Regions from separate parts of the Homo sapiens genome. Here region 2 is linked to region 1. The links are contacts of gene promoters, found by promoter capture Hi-C in blood cells and fetal thymus (Javierre and others, 2016). All regions are on one chromosome and are shown on one strand. The core of a region is centred on a gene start or on the middle of the fragment in contact, and the rest is flanking DNA. Distances in the headings are between cores, read along the strand shown.

What was found. Contacts are between HindIII fragments. The CHiCAGO score rates a contact against its expected background, and 5 or more counts as called.
Region 2: a fragment that was not itself captured here is called in contact with the fragment with the promoter of KRT6C in region 1 in 1 of 17 cell types (endothelial precursors); the score reaches 6.7 in endothelial precursors.

Annotation. Positions count from the first base shown.
Region 1 is chr12:52,469,434-52,476,537 of GRCh38, reverse strand. It overlaps KRT6C (keratin 6C), which reads left to right and starts at 2,733. Exons shown (of 9, transcript NM_173086.5): 1 at 2,733-3,340; 2 at 4,258-4,472; 3 at 4,806-4,866; 4 at 5,022-5,117; 5 at 5,242-5,406; 6 at 5,908-6,033; 7 at 6,648-6,868; 8 at 7,093-7,104. The coding sequence starts at 2,801. The HindIII fragment of the contact is 8,852 bases long and covers 1,361-7,104 here.
Region 2 is chr12:52,778,961-52,786,064 of GRCh38, reverse strand. No RefSeq gene overlaps it. Among named protein-coding and RNA genes, the nearest start is that of KRT76, 5.2 kb to the right of the region's middle. The HindIII fragment of the contact is 1,580 bases long and covers 3,588-5,167 here.

The sequences.
Region 1 (7,104 bases), core at 1,484-3,983:
AATTGATGTTTAAAAGAATTATTCACACAGCCTTGTACCATAATGAGAATTCCAACCCACCTGAATATGCCCCGGGTCCTTCCTCCCAGAATACCTCCTGTAAATGGCAGCCCCAGAGGATGCTCATCTCATTAAAAGTGAGCACCAGTTGGAAAGGAAGCATTCCAGGACCCACAAAAGATCTATGCATTTAAAACTGAAAGGAGTGAGGAAAAAAAAGGCACTTAACACTCAACAGAAAAAAGGCACAATAAAGTGTTAGCAAAAAAATTTCAGTGAAATGATGACCTCCATAAATTAAGAGAACTAAGGGACAATATATTGAGACAATAAAGAACAATCGAAACGAAGACCAACTGAAAGCAGCACAAAGAGGAAAGAAAGATATTGCTGAAGGCACAGTAATTGACGTATAGGAAAAGATGGAGAAATCAAACAGAAAAAAAGGGATCAGAGTGGTAAAAGAGAATAAAGAGAAAAAAATAGATTTCGAAGGCAAAGTAGAGACAACACAAACTTAATTGGAAGATAATACATGTGTATGTGTTTTATATATATATAATTTTAAAATATTTTATATATGTATGCAAATTTAATATATAAAACACACAGACAAACCTCTCTCTGTCTCTCTTTAGCTATAATTCACCTATACAATACCTTTCTAGGGGCCTTACTCTTTACATATAAAACTCCCCCTCCTCTCTCACCCTCTGTCTTCTCTCTCATACACATACATATGCACACACACACACAAATACACAAATCTCACATATTCCCCAGAAAAAGCTCAGAAACATATCCAAGTAAAGTTACTAGAAGGATACACAAGGACCTGGTAACAGTGCCTACTTCCACATAAAAAGTTTGCATGGCTGGGGAATGGCTTTAGTAAGTATTTTCTCCTTAAACATTTATTACATATTCAATTTATAAACATATAAATGAATGTGTAAATAACAATTTTCAATTTTTTTATTTTAATTAATTTATTTTTTTGAGACAGAATGTCACTCTGTCACCCAGGCTGGAGTGCAGTGGTGCAATCTCGGCTCACTGCAACCTCTGCCTCCCGGGTTCAAGGGATCCTCCCACCTCAGCCTCTGGAGTAGGAGCTGGGATTACAGACAAGCACTACAACACCAGCTAATTTTTGTATTTTTAGTGGAGATGGGGTTTCACCATGTTGGCCAGGCTGGTCTAAAACTCCTGACTTCAGGTGATTCGCCCCCCTCGGCCTCCAAAAAGTGCTGGGATTACAGGCGTGAGCCACTGCGCCCGGCCAATTTTCAGTATTTAAATAGGCATTCTACTACATCCACATCTGGAAAGTCTAAGTATATGAGAGTCTTATTAAGCTTCAAGTTTTAATGATCAGTTTGCAGGAAATATAGAGGACACAGTAGCATCTTAAATGAAACACTGTGAGTAAGCAATGAGGAAATCCCAAAGACTGAAACACTACTCAGGACAATTAACCTGGTCTTATCAACAAAAGAATTGTAAACAATAAGGAAATAAATGAAAAAGGACATTGGAGAATTGAATAGACACATTGATGTTAATAAATACACAAATTGGCTGGGAGCAGTGGCTCATGCCTGTAATCCCAGCACTTTTGGAGGCTGAGCCAGGTGGATCACCTGAGGTCAGGAGTTCGAGACCAGCCTGGCCAACATGGCGAAACACCATCTCTACTAAAAATACAAAAAATTAGCCGTGCTTGATGGTGGCCACCTGTAATCTCAAACTACTCAGGAGGCTGAGGTGAGAGAATCTCTTGAACCTGGGAGGCGGAGGTTGCAGTGAACCTAGATCGCACCACTGGACTCCAGCCTGGGTGACAGAGAGAGACTCTATCTCAAAAAAAAAAGAAAAAAAATTACCCTTCCCCACTGTCCCCTCTACACCCCCTCTCTATGCTCTTTTCTTCCTAGTAAAGCATTACTTTCTTTCTAGCTCAGTGATGCCACTGGATGTGATGTCTTCTATCTCCTTTTGTGTTGTCATCTTTATTAGAGTCAACTCCTTGAGGGCGAAGACTTAATAAATACATACATTTTTAAAATACAAAATAATATTTCAGTTATATTTCTAAAAGGTCTATCATTTAAAGATTAATATTGAATTAATATTGAATTAAATCCCAAATATTTTTGGGATTTAAAAAAATTTAACATTGATAAGGGAACCGGGTGGAAATATACAAGAAATAAGACTGGCCATAAGGTAATCATCATGGAAACAGGTAATAGGTATATACAGGCCCATTGTGTTCTGCTCCTCTACATGTTTGAAATTGCACACAGAAGGAAAAATAATTACAGGAAAAATGTTAATATTTCTGTTAAGGCATTTGCAATACAGTGCTTGTGATCTCCAACATCTCTGCTGGAAGAAAGTCAGGCTGGAAAGAGGAAAGCACTCACAGCATGTTGATAAACAGCCTAGCATGCAGAACCTTTGCTGAAGACAGTGACTAACTTCAACTTCATGAACTGAGAATGCTCTTACTGTGCTGAAATCTCGAGTCAAAGCTGGAGGCAGGAACATTTTCCCTGACTAAAGGAAGTGAAAAATGCCATCTCAGCATTTCATAACTTTTCTGATCCAGGTGTGATCTCACTATTTGTAAAGCCCAGCCCTTCCCAACCTGCAAGCTCACCTTCCAGGACTGGGCCCAGCCCATGCTCTCTCATAATATATAAGCTACTGCTGGAGCCCGATTCCTTGTCCTGCTTCTCCTGCCTCTCGCCTCCAGCCTCCAACGCTCGCCACAGCCCTCTCATCTCCTGGAACCATGGCCAGCACATCCACCACCATCAGGAGCCACAGCAGCAGCCGCCGGGGTTTCAGTGCCAACTCAGCCAGGCTCCCTGGGGTCAGCCGCTCTGGCTTCAGCAGCATCTCCGTGTCCCGCTCCAGGGGCAGTGGTGGCCTGGGTGGTGCATGTGGAGGAGCTGGCTTTGGCAGCCGCAGTCTGTATGGCCTGGGGGGCTCCAAGAGGATCTCCATTGGAGGGGGCAGCTGTGCCATCAGTGGCGGCTATGGCAGCAGAGCCGGAGGCAGCTATGGCTTTGGTGGCGCCGGGAGTGGATTTGGTTTCGGTGGTGGAGCCGGCATTGGCTTTGGTCTGGGTGGTGGAGCCGGCCTTGCTGGTGGCTTTGGGGGCCCTGGCTTCCCTGTGTGCCCCCCTGGAGGCATCCAAGAGGTCACCGTCAACCAGAGTCTCCTGACTCCCCTCAACCTGCAAATTGACCCCGCCATCCAGCGGGTGCGGGCCGAGGAGCGTGAGCAGATCAAGACCCTCAACAACAAGTTTGCCTCCTTCATCGACAAGGTGAGCCAGTGCCATGCCCTCCATCGGGCACTTCAGGGTCCCCAGACCAGAAGAGCAACACCTTCCTGCTAGGGAGACCTAGGAGGGAGGGAGAAGGGGATTCAGCCCAGCTCTGCAGAGAGTGCAGGTGGCTCTCGGTGCACAGGAGGCAGCACAGATGGGCATCACTCCCCCATGGGATCTCTGGAGTGGCCCTCACTCCTGCCTAGGGAGAGCCGTAACTTTTCATAACCCTGAAGCACAGATGAGGCCATCAGAGAGTGGAGTAGGTTAATTCTCCCCTCTGAAGTGTTTAAGAGATTACAAAGCAAATGCCAGGAGTATATGGGCTGGTAAATTACACTCTGGGGTCTGGGTAAGAGGAAAAAGATTTAGAAAGAAAAGGAAAAGATAATCTGGCTGGATTAAGAAAAAAAGGGACATAGAAACAACTGTAAAACATGGATAAATGCTAATTAATTTTAAAAACAGAGAATGACCATAACATCAGAATATTTGAGAGGAGACACTAAATGGGAAAGTAGACTGAAATGTAATCATGAGTCAACATATAATATCTCTCCTAACTAAGATCCTATCAGTAAAAAAACTGTGTACAATATATCAGGTAATTAGTATTTTTAAACTAGATTTGTGATTGTGCCTGGAAAAAGAAGAGAAGAAATGTTGAAACTCACTGATGATCAATAGCTTACAGCGTGAGAACACCTCAATGGTCCATGGGACAATTTCTCTAGTGAGACTGGTGGGGTGCAAAGGAGAAGGGGTTGGGGGAGCAGAGCTCAGCCTGAGCCTCTCCACATGCACTGTAGTAGCCCAGCACCATGGGGACCTCCAAGACCTGCCAGGAAACTGGATACCAGACACTTTTTCTTCCTTCCTTTGCCTGGAAAATGACCATCTTGCTTCCCTTCCAGGTGCGGTTCCTAGAGCAGCAGAACAAGGTTCTGGACACCAAGTGGACCCTGCTGCAGGAGCAGGGCACCAAGACTGTGAGGCAGAACCTGGAGCCGTTGTTCGAGCAGTACATCAACAACCTCAGGAGGCAGCTGGACAGCATCGTCGGGGAACGGGGCCGCCTGGACTCGGAGCTGAGAAACATGCAGGACCTGGTGGAGGACCTCAAGAACAAGTGAGGACTCCATTTCCTGCAGCACACACTTCAAGACTATTGGGTGACCAGGGCCAGATGTGTGTAGGATTCCTAACAACCCATGTCCATGGAAATGAAAAGCACAAATTAGTCCCTAGGAGCAAACCTGCAAGAACCACAGATGGTTATGGGAGGATGGGGGGATTAAAGAAGTGGCAAATTTAGTAGTAGCAAAACTCATCTCTTTGGCTCTCTGTGGCAGGAAAGCTCAATTAGAATATATTCCATTCAGGAAATTGTTGAATCCCAAGCTGCTTTTCTGTTTCATCCTACCCACTGGCTCATATGTGTCCTATGCCTTTCTTCCTGTAGATATGAGGATGAAATCAACAAGCGCACAGCAGCAGAGAATGAATTTGTGACTCTGAAGAAGGTGAGCAGATGAAGCCGGGGGTTCAAATTCATTTAGAAGGAGAGAAGTGGCTCTGTGTCCTCGCTCCCCTGGGAGAGAATTGGCAGGAGGACTAGAAGATGGGTAGATTGGAAAGGTGAGCTCAGGTAACTCCAGGTTGTTGGCTCTTTCCCCAGGATGTGGATGCTGCCTACATGAACAAGGTTGAACTGCAAGCCAAGGCAGACACTCTCACAGATGAGATCAACTTCCTGAGAGCCTTGTATGATGCAGTAAGCATCTCCACCATCCTTCTGTTTACTCTGATGGGGTCTGCAAAGGGGAGAAGATGTATAGGGTTGGGTATCTCTGTAAATGTCAGATGTGAAGTTGATCTTATGACCTTCTGTTCTGCAGGAGCTGTCCCAGATGCAGACCCACATCTCAGACACATCCGTGGTGCTATCCATGGACAACAACCGCAACCTGGACCTGGACAGCATCATCGCTGAGGTCAAGGCCCAATACGAGGAGATTGCTCAGAGGAGCCGGGCTGAGGCTGAGTCCTGGTACCAGACCAAGGTGAGCAGGGAGTGGGCAGCTGCTGAGGAATCCTTGTGTCCATCCTGGAATACCAGAGGACTGCAGACTTCACTGGGGACATCCCCTGACAGGAAGCTGGGGTCCTCTCACAGGACATGCACTCTGCACTATTAGAGTAGACATTTGGGGAACTTATGTGCAAGTCAAGGAGGAAAAAGAACCCAATGCAGGAGGAAAGCTGCCATAGACAAGGACATAGTCATCTCTGCATTTATCTTCACCCTGATTGCTGACTTTTAGAAATTGGTACAGAATATTTCTACTCCCTAAAGAAACTAGGCAGGCAGTGGTGCCATAATGAGGATCGTCTGTGACTCCAGAGTTTAGTATCCACCCACCACATAACATCAACTTTTCCTCAAGTTTCTTGAGGAGAAGCCATTAGGTCCACTTCATGACATGCATGATACACAAGTGAAAGTCATCGCTCCCAGGTAAGAACCCGTAGACACTGTCTCTCTCTCCACCTCTGGGCTGCAGTACGAGGAGCTGCAGGTCACAGCAGGCAGACATGGGGACGACCTGCGCAACACCAAGCAGGAGATTGCTGAGATCAACCGCATGATCCAGAGGCTGAGATCTGAGATCGACCATGTCAAGAAGCAGGTACAGTGAGGTGCAGTGGAGGAAAGAAGCATCATTTTTTGCTAGACCCATCAGGCAGTCATTAGCCATTATTTGATATAATTCCTGAAACGTAAACCAACACTAGGGTGAGGAACATGTGTAGTTCTTGCCCTCAGTGAGAACTCAATAGAGAAGTGAATCCCACCCAAGAGGATGAGCCTCTGAGGCACAAGCAAGGCCAGGTCTCAACAGTCAGGTAAAAAGTTACCACCTCCCCTACAGATGGTCATAATTTTGTATATTTTAATGTGGCATCCAGATGTATTCCTCAAAATCATTCTTGTAGTTTTGAAAACAGCACTCAGTACAAACCGAGCATTCATCTTCCATATGGCTTGTTTTTGGGTCCATTGTAGTGTCTCCCATAAGATGCAACGCACATTCTCATGCGGGTGCTTAATACAAGGGGCATAGGACTTTGTCACTTGACTCCCAGACTAGACAAATATTGCCAAATGGAGAAATACTGGACAGGAAGAGTCAAAGCTCATTCTCTGTCAATTTTGGGTTACAGGACCCTGGTTCACTAAACAAGGGCCAGCCTCCTCCGGAGGAGCAGACAAGAAGTTCCTTCTCTTCCTTTCCCCTCCTAGTGTGCCAGCCTGCAGGCTGCCATTGCTGATGCTGAGCAGCGTGGGGAGATGGCACTCAAGGATGCTAAGAACAAGCTGGAAGGGCTGGAGGATGCCCTGCAGAAGGCCAAGCAGGACCTGGCCCGGCTGCTGAAGGAGTACCAGGAGCTGATGAATGTCAAGCTGGCCCTGGATGTGGAGATCGCCACCTACCGCAAGCTGCTGGAGGGCGAGGAGTGCAGGTAGGTAACTGACGCGACTTCCTCCAACAGCTGAGTCCATCTTCAAGGTTCCTGGCACTGAGCACAATTCTAGGGTGCACTGCTCATGGCCGTAATTGCTCTTCTTGAGAGAAAACTAAAAGAGCAGTTTCCCATGGACTCTTCCACCCACCGAGGCTGCCCACACTGGTCCAGGGAAGGAAGAGCTCTCTGAGGTCTCACCCTCCCTGTGTTCCTCTCCACAGGCTGAATGGCGA
Region 2 (7,104 bases), core at 3,128-5,627, 310 kb before region 1:
ATCATTGTTGGACATAGAGGAACCAACTTCTACCCTACGCCTCTATCTATCTATCTATCTATCTATCTATCTATCTATCTATCTATCTATCATCATCTATCCCCTCCAACCACCCCCACACTGTCTTCCCCAGAAGAAATGCTCAAAAGAGTGTTTTCCTGTTCTAAGAGCTTGCGGACTCACTGGTTCACTTCCCATTAGGAAGACCAAGTTGTGTTTTTAGATTTCAGGTTTTCCTTCTATATCTTTGTGAGAATACAGGCTACATGTCAGAGCAAGTATCAGTGGTAACAGTGTCACACCTATGAAAGGCTCAGTTAAGGAAATCAGAGGGTTGTTTTCCACAAGAATTTGAAAGTAGTTCAGCGCTTGCCTATGGATAATCTAGACTTGACTGCTGATGATCAAGTTTTGCATGTAACGTTTTGTGTAATTTGCAGGTAAATCTCTACATGACTCTTCTCTGTTTTGCCTAGAACTGGGTGGAGTGTTTGTTAGCCAAGCATCAGAGATCTCACTTTCTGGGATTTGGACTGCCTCTTCTCTCTGCCTTCTCAGCACTTCAGCCCATGTGTATTCTCCCTCTATGCAAAGACAAAGACAAAGACAAAAAGTGTGGGAACCTTGAGATAATCTTGGGATGACCGAGAAAAACTCACTTAAGTTCTGAAAATGCTTCTTCACACATTTTATCTGAATCTTCACTACATCCTTCACAAGCCCTTCTGGCATACACATTGTCTAACACACATCTCTGTTGTGCCTAAGATAGAGCTAATCCCCATCAACACTTCCAGTCCAGGCTGAAGGCTGAAGGTGACTTGGCTCTCCTAGGGAACCATTGATGGAGGTGTGCTGGGAGAATCTGATACTTTTGGAATCTGTGGTGATGAGACTGAATGGTGACAGCTCCGTCAACCACTGGAGAAGACGGTGGCAGGAGAAGGTGACTCTAGGTGGAACTAATGCTGTGACTCTCAGTGGGGGCAATTTTGCTCCCCAGGGAACATATAGCAATGTCTAGTGACATTTTTGGTTGTCACAAGTCGGGGAGTGCTACTGGCATCTAGAGAGTAGAAGCCAGGTTGCTACTAAACATCCCACATCACACAAGCCAGCCCCCTTCAACATATAAACAGCCAGCCTCAAATGTCCACAGTGCCACTGCAGAGAAAGCTGTGCCAAACAAGAGGTCGTCTCATTCATTTCTCTCCTTGGGAGAAGATCTTTAGTTACAGTGATATGGGTTATAGTTGAACTGGATAGAGATCCTTGTGGATTTGAGGGAAGTATGTATTTGTAGAAGTTTTTTTTTTTTTTTTTTATGAGATGGAGTCTCGCTCTGCCACCAGGCTGGAGTGCAGTGGCATGATCTCAGCTCACTGCAACCTCCACCTCATGGGTTTAAGTGATTCTCCTGCCTCAGCCTCCCGAGTAGCTGGGACTACAGGTGCATGCCACCATGCCTGGCTAATTTTTTTTTTTTTTGTATTTTAGTAGAGACCGGCTTTCACCATGTTGCCCAGGCTGGTCTCGAACTCCTGAGTCAGGCAATCTGCCCGCTTCGGCCTCCCAAAGTGCTAGGATTACAGGCATGAGCCACCATGCCTGGCCGAAGTTTGTTTATTTTAAAACGGAAATGCCCTTTTATTCTGGATGAAGACATAGGAAAAAAGCCAAGGAAACAGTGTGGCCTTATGTGGAGACTTTCAAGACCTGTGCAAATGGCCTACAAGGTGCCTGCAGTTCTGGTATCAACCTGGCTTTCTCACGCCTCTGTGCCTTTGATGCTCTGTTCTCTGTCAGGAATGCTCATCCCGCCTTCACCCACTTGCCCTGCCTCACTCATCACTGAGGATTACCCAGGCACTGCCTTCTGAAAACCTTCCTAGACCCTCCATGGCACTGAGCATCTGTCTGGACTCCCATGGGACTTTGTCTATCCCTTTTTATCATGTGCCGTATTATATTAAAATGACTAGTTTCAGTGCCTGTTCTCCACATTAAGATAGAAGTTACTCGAAGGGATGGCTCTGCCTGATTCATCTTTGTGCTCCTCAGTGACCAGCAAAATGCCTGGCACATAGCAGGCACTGTGAGCTTCACTAAGCTAATGAGATTTTGAAAAGGGTAGGGTAGACTCTTAAAGATAATTACTGCCCTGACATATTTAACAAAAACAACTGGATTAAACAACTAACTTTTGTGACTAGTGCAAGTCATATTCTGGGCATTTTGCATATGTCATCTCATTTCATCCTTTGCAACTGCCATAAGAGGCAGGCGGCAATTATCCTCATTTTCTAGATGAGGACACTGGCTTGGAGAAGCAGAGTAACATGACTGATGGGAAGTGGCAGATCTGGCCTCAAATCCAAAGTGTACACATGCAACTACTGTGCTATGCTGCTGAATGGGGCCGGCTGGTGTCTTCTTGGATTCTAGGATGTCCTCCCTTGTATGTGGACTAACGACTTTCCATAGTTTTGAGCCAGAAACCAAACCTGAAGTTCCTACATTAGCAGACGAGATTTCTACAGCTAAGGCTCTGTGATGGTGAGCAGGCCCACGTTTAACTCTGGGGAGTTCTGATCTCCAGACAGAGAAGCCATTGAGATTGATTGGGAGAATACCTTGATAATGATGGGTGTTCCTCCTTGATGCCACAATGGAATTCACAAAGTTTAAAACTATTTTCATCAACACAAGTTGATGCTTCAAGGCAGATCTGACCATTACCTTCTAAGGTTGGGGTTTTTTTTTTTTTTTTTTTTTTTTTAACATGCAACACAAATGTATTATTTAAAGGTGCATCTTGATTACCTGTTTGGTGAGCAAAAACAAAATACGGTGGCTCATGCCTGTAATCCCAGTACTTTGGGAGGCCGAAGCGAGTGGAGCACCTGAGGTCAGGAGTTCAAGACCAGCCTGACCAACATGGTGAAACCCCGTCTCTACTAAACATTCAAAAATTAGCTGGGTGTGGTGGCAGGCGCCTGTAATCCCAGCTACTCGGGAGGCTGAGGCAGGAGAATCTCCTGAACCTGGGAGGCAGAGGTTGCAGTGAGCCTTGATTGTGCCACTGCACTCCAGCCTGAGCAACAGAGTGAGACTCCGTCTCAAAAAAAAAAAAAAAAAAAAAAAGTGAAAGAGAAGATTGTGGCTAATCATTCCTGTGGGCCAAGTGGTCAACTCCAACATCTAAGACCCAGCAAGCAGCTAAGCTCAGCGCAAACTCCTGGCCTCTTGCTCTTTCTCCAACAGGGTGAAGACCTTTTACATTGCAGATGATGGAGCGGCTCTTGTCATCTATAAATTCCATGCACACCCATGTGTTCTGTCCCTGAGAGACTGTCCTGACCAGTGCCTTGGTGGCCCTGGCTAGCATGGTAGGTTGCACATGGCTGGTGTCCAACCTATCATGTGGTGGTCAGGTGGAGAGAATATTGGTGGGTTCTTTACATGTCAAAGTGGACTTTTCACTTTGGGATGGTGTAATTTGACTTGCTGAAAGTCTATGCAGAAGAAAAGCATTCACGAATTTACGACAGGCTTTGGGATTGGACAGTCTGATTAAAATCCAAGCTTGCAAGTGAATTGACTTGAGGCAAGTTAATTAACCTCATGCCCTTATCTGTAAAATGTGAATGAAAATTCCTACCTTACAAAGTTTTTGTGACAATTAGAAATGACACATGTAAACAACCTGTCAGTGACTTGTATATGTTAGGCAGTCAATGTTAGCTGTTTTAAAATTCTATTCACAGATGGGCAATAGGAGTTAAGATTTGAAAGAGGAAATTGTTTTCACTGAAACATAGTCCCCACACCTCTAAAAAGTATGTAGTAGATCAATAAGTATTTGCTGATTGATAGATTGCATTACTGACGAGGCCCTGTAGTGGGAAAATGGCTTGGCCAGACATGGGAAAATGGCTTTTATGTAATTCTCAATACAGACAGTATGATTCTTTGCAACTTGTTGCAAAATAATCAAAGACTTCACTGTTGCCTTGACCCTAAACTGGGCTACCCCTTAGAACTCCTCCTTCCTCTTCAGCTTCCAAACTGACACCTTCTAGGAGGGCTTCCTACATTGACATCATCATCACAAGGGCTGCCAAGTGTTGAGCACCTGCTTTGTGTAAGGGTTTTCCAACTTTACCTCCTACAGTCCCCACTGCAACTCTATGAGGAGGCTGTGCTAACTCCCATTTGCTGAATGGGAAACTGAGGTCCAGAGGGTAAAATGTCTTGCCTGATGCCATGCAACTGGAAAGTGGCAAGGCTGGGATCTGAACACAGGCTCGTCTAATTCCAAGGCTTCCATATTTTCCACTCTTTCAAGCTGCAAGGGAAGAGAGGAGGAGATGAAGTTATTTGAGTTCCAGAAAATCCAGCATGCCCATGAAATATCCACGGTTTTTGGAAATATTCAGCCAAATCCATTTATTGGTGAGAAATATTCATTGACAGGAGAGCTTGTCTTTAGAGAACCTGTTCAGTTTTCGGCGTCCCAGTGCCCTTCTTGCTGCATCTTCAACCCCAGGCCTTAGTCTGCTCTCAGTTTCCTGCTATCTCACTTGGAGCAAGTGCTTTCTCTCCAGGGATGAGGAGCTCACTTGGAGCAAGTGCTCTTTCTCCAGGAATGAGGATGTCTCCTTATGCCCTAATCCTCTGATTGGTCTATCTGCACTGGTCTATCTGCACATTCTCATCCATCCTGGATGGCTAGTTGGACTAGCGTTTCCCGAGTATACTTGACAGCATGTTAGTAGATGTTAAGATAGAAAGATTTTGTTGTTAAATTTGGGAAGCTGTGATTAAATTAAGGCAAAGACATTATTTTCTATAGGACTTCTTTGGGCTTTTAATATACTAAACAACTTTACTAAAATCCCAGGAAAGAGCTATAGATTTTTCATTTCCCAAATTTATGTAATCACAGAACCTTTTAATCAGGGCCATCTTGGGAGATAGAATTCTGCCCTGCATAAGCCCTGGGAGAGATCCAAGTACCAGATAAAGAATGAGGGGTGAGCTGGTGTGTATTTTAATCAAGTGTAGAGATAAGACCAGAATCAGAACAAATTGTGGTTGCTAACAGCTAAGACCTTAGTAACATAAGGACTTAGTTGTACTTAGATGTTTGCTTCTTTATCAAGCTTTCACTATAAATCTTGCTCTATATGGTAATTATTTTTACTGTTCATTGGTTAAAATTGCTTCACTAGTGACAAGCTTTTATTTCAACAAGAAAAGAATGCTAATTCCTAGTCCAGGGGCAGCATACCCAGAACGTTAATTATTCTTTTTTTATTTTTGAGAACAAATTGGTGATTATCTTGAAAATGGGATCTGCGAACCTCCATGGAGAAAGAGGCAGCAGCCATGGCTCCCTCATCCTCAGCAGATGGTGGTGGAGAGGGATGACTGCTCACTTTGGCCAAGGATAATGACTACTGTCTCATGATGCATTCCTCCACTCATAATTATGTTACAGGCAATCTGAAGTCTTCTCACTGCAGTTGACTACCAGAGAGCAATTTGGTTAGAGGGAATAACTCCTTGGTTTTAGTGCCCCCAATTTTATAGGTGGGGAAATAAAAATCCAGGGTGCTCAGCCATCTGGCAAGCTTTACACAGAATGTTCTGGCAGTGAGGGATTGGAACTCAGATTGCTGGCAGTAGGCAGACCCTTTAGATACTGTTCTGAAAGATCCTACAGTGAATGAGGGCAATGTTGGTGAGGATAGCAACTCTGGGTATTTCCAGCAGCTCCATTCAACTGCTGAGAAGACAATCCCCATCTGCTAAATAAGGTGATGCTTTGGCAGGCTCATGCGACATGGATTAGGCGACCCAGCCCAAACCCGCGCTTTTGTGATCTGTGCATCACCTTTCTCCACCACGCTTCTCCAGCCTAGGCCAGGGTGGCAGAGGTGAGCCACACATCAGAGGCTGCCACCCACCACCTCAGTACTGCAGCCAAGGGAGGGAAGGGAATCAGAGACATTTATGTCTGTTCTTGTTTGCTTCGGACTCTCACCTGGAGCTTCAGCTGAGCCTGGCTCAGCTTTCTTTCCAGGAAGAGCATGTGATCTTCTGCTTTTAAAGGATCCAGAGGATATGAGGAAAGACCTTACCAGGAGGGGCTGTCATTCAATTGATGGGTGGAGTATAAATGTCTCATGGAAGAACTCAACATGAAATCCTCTTCCTGGATTATCTGTGGATGAATGATGTTAATTTAAAAATCCAAACATATATTGCTGAATACTATGTATTTAAATTTCAAAACAATCCTGCAAGTAGGATCAATGCCACCTTTTAAAAATAAGGAGAGAGAGAAGTCAAGTACCTTGTCCAAGGTCACCACATAGTGAGAGGTAGACATAGGATTTGAACCCAGGTCTTTGGAATTCCATGATGATGACAGGTTTTCTGTTATACCACAGCTATCTTACTCCTGTGTGGAATTTTGTGATTTTCAAAGGACTTTCACTTACATTATCCTGCAAGTCTCACCACAAACCAGTAAGGTAGGAAAGTGTTTGGCAGATTAGAACACAGACTTACGTTAAATCGTGGCACAAGGTCACCCAACCCAACCCTAGTCAGTATAAGTCTCAGTCTTTTCTATCCCAAGTTGGGTTTCTAATTCTTCACTCCTATTCAGCCTCCTTTCCTCACCTTTGGTGAGCTTCTTAGGGATGCAAAGTTGTCTTGAGAACAGCCAGGGCCAAACATGTTATTGCTTCTCCATTCCCCCAAATAGAGTACTGGCAAGTAGCTAAACATATAGTGCTTGCTATGTGTCAAGCACTGGGCTAAGCATTTTATATTTACTTAACTTGTTTAATGCTCACAACAACCCCATAAAGTACTTGCCATTCTTAGCCCCATTTTACAATTGATAAAGCAGACACATAAAAGTTAAGTAACTTGTCCAAGGCCTAAAAGTTGGTGGATAGTGGATCTGGGATCTGACGCCAGATAAGCTGCAGAGCAGAGAGCTGAGAATTAGCTGCAAAGCTCTTGAAGTCACTCAACTCAAGGTGGTTCCAAGGTTCTCAGACCAATTCTCTCCCCTAGACTGGACTG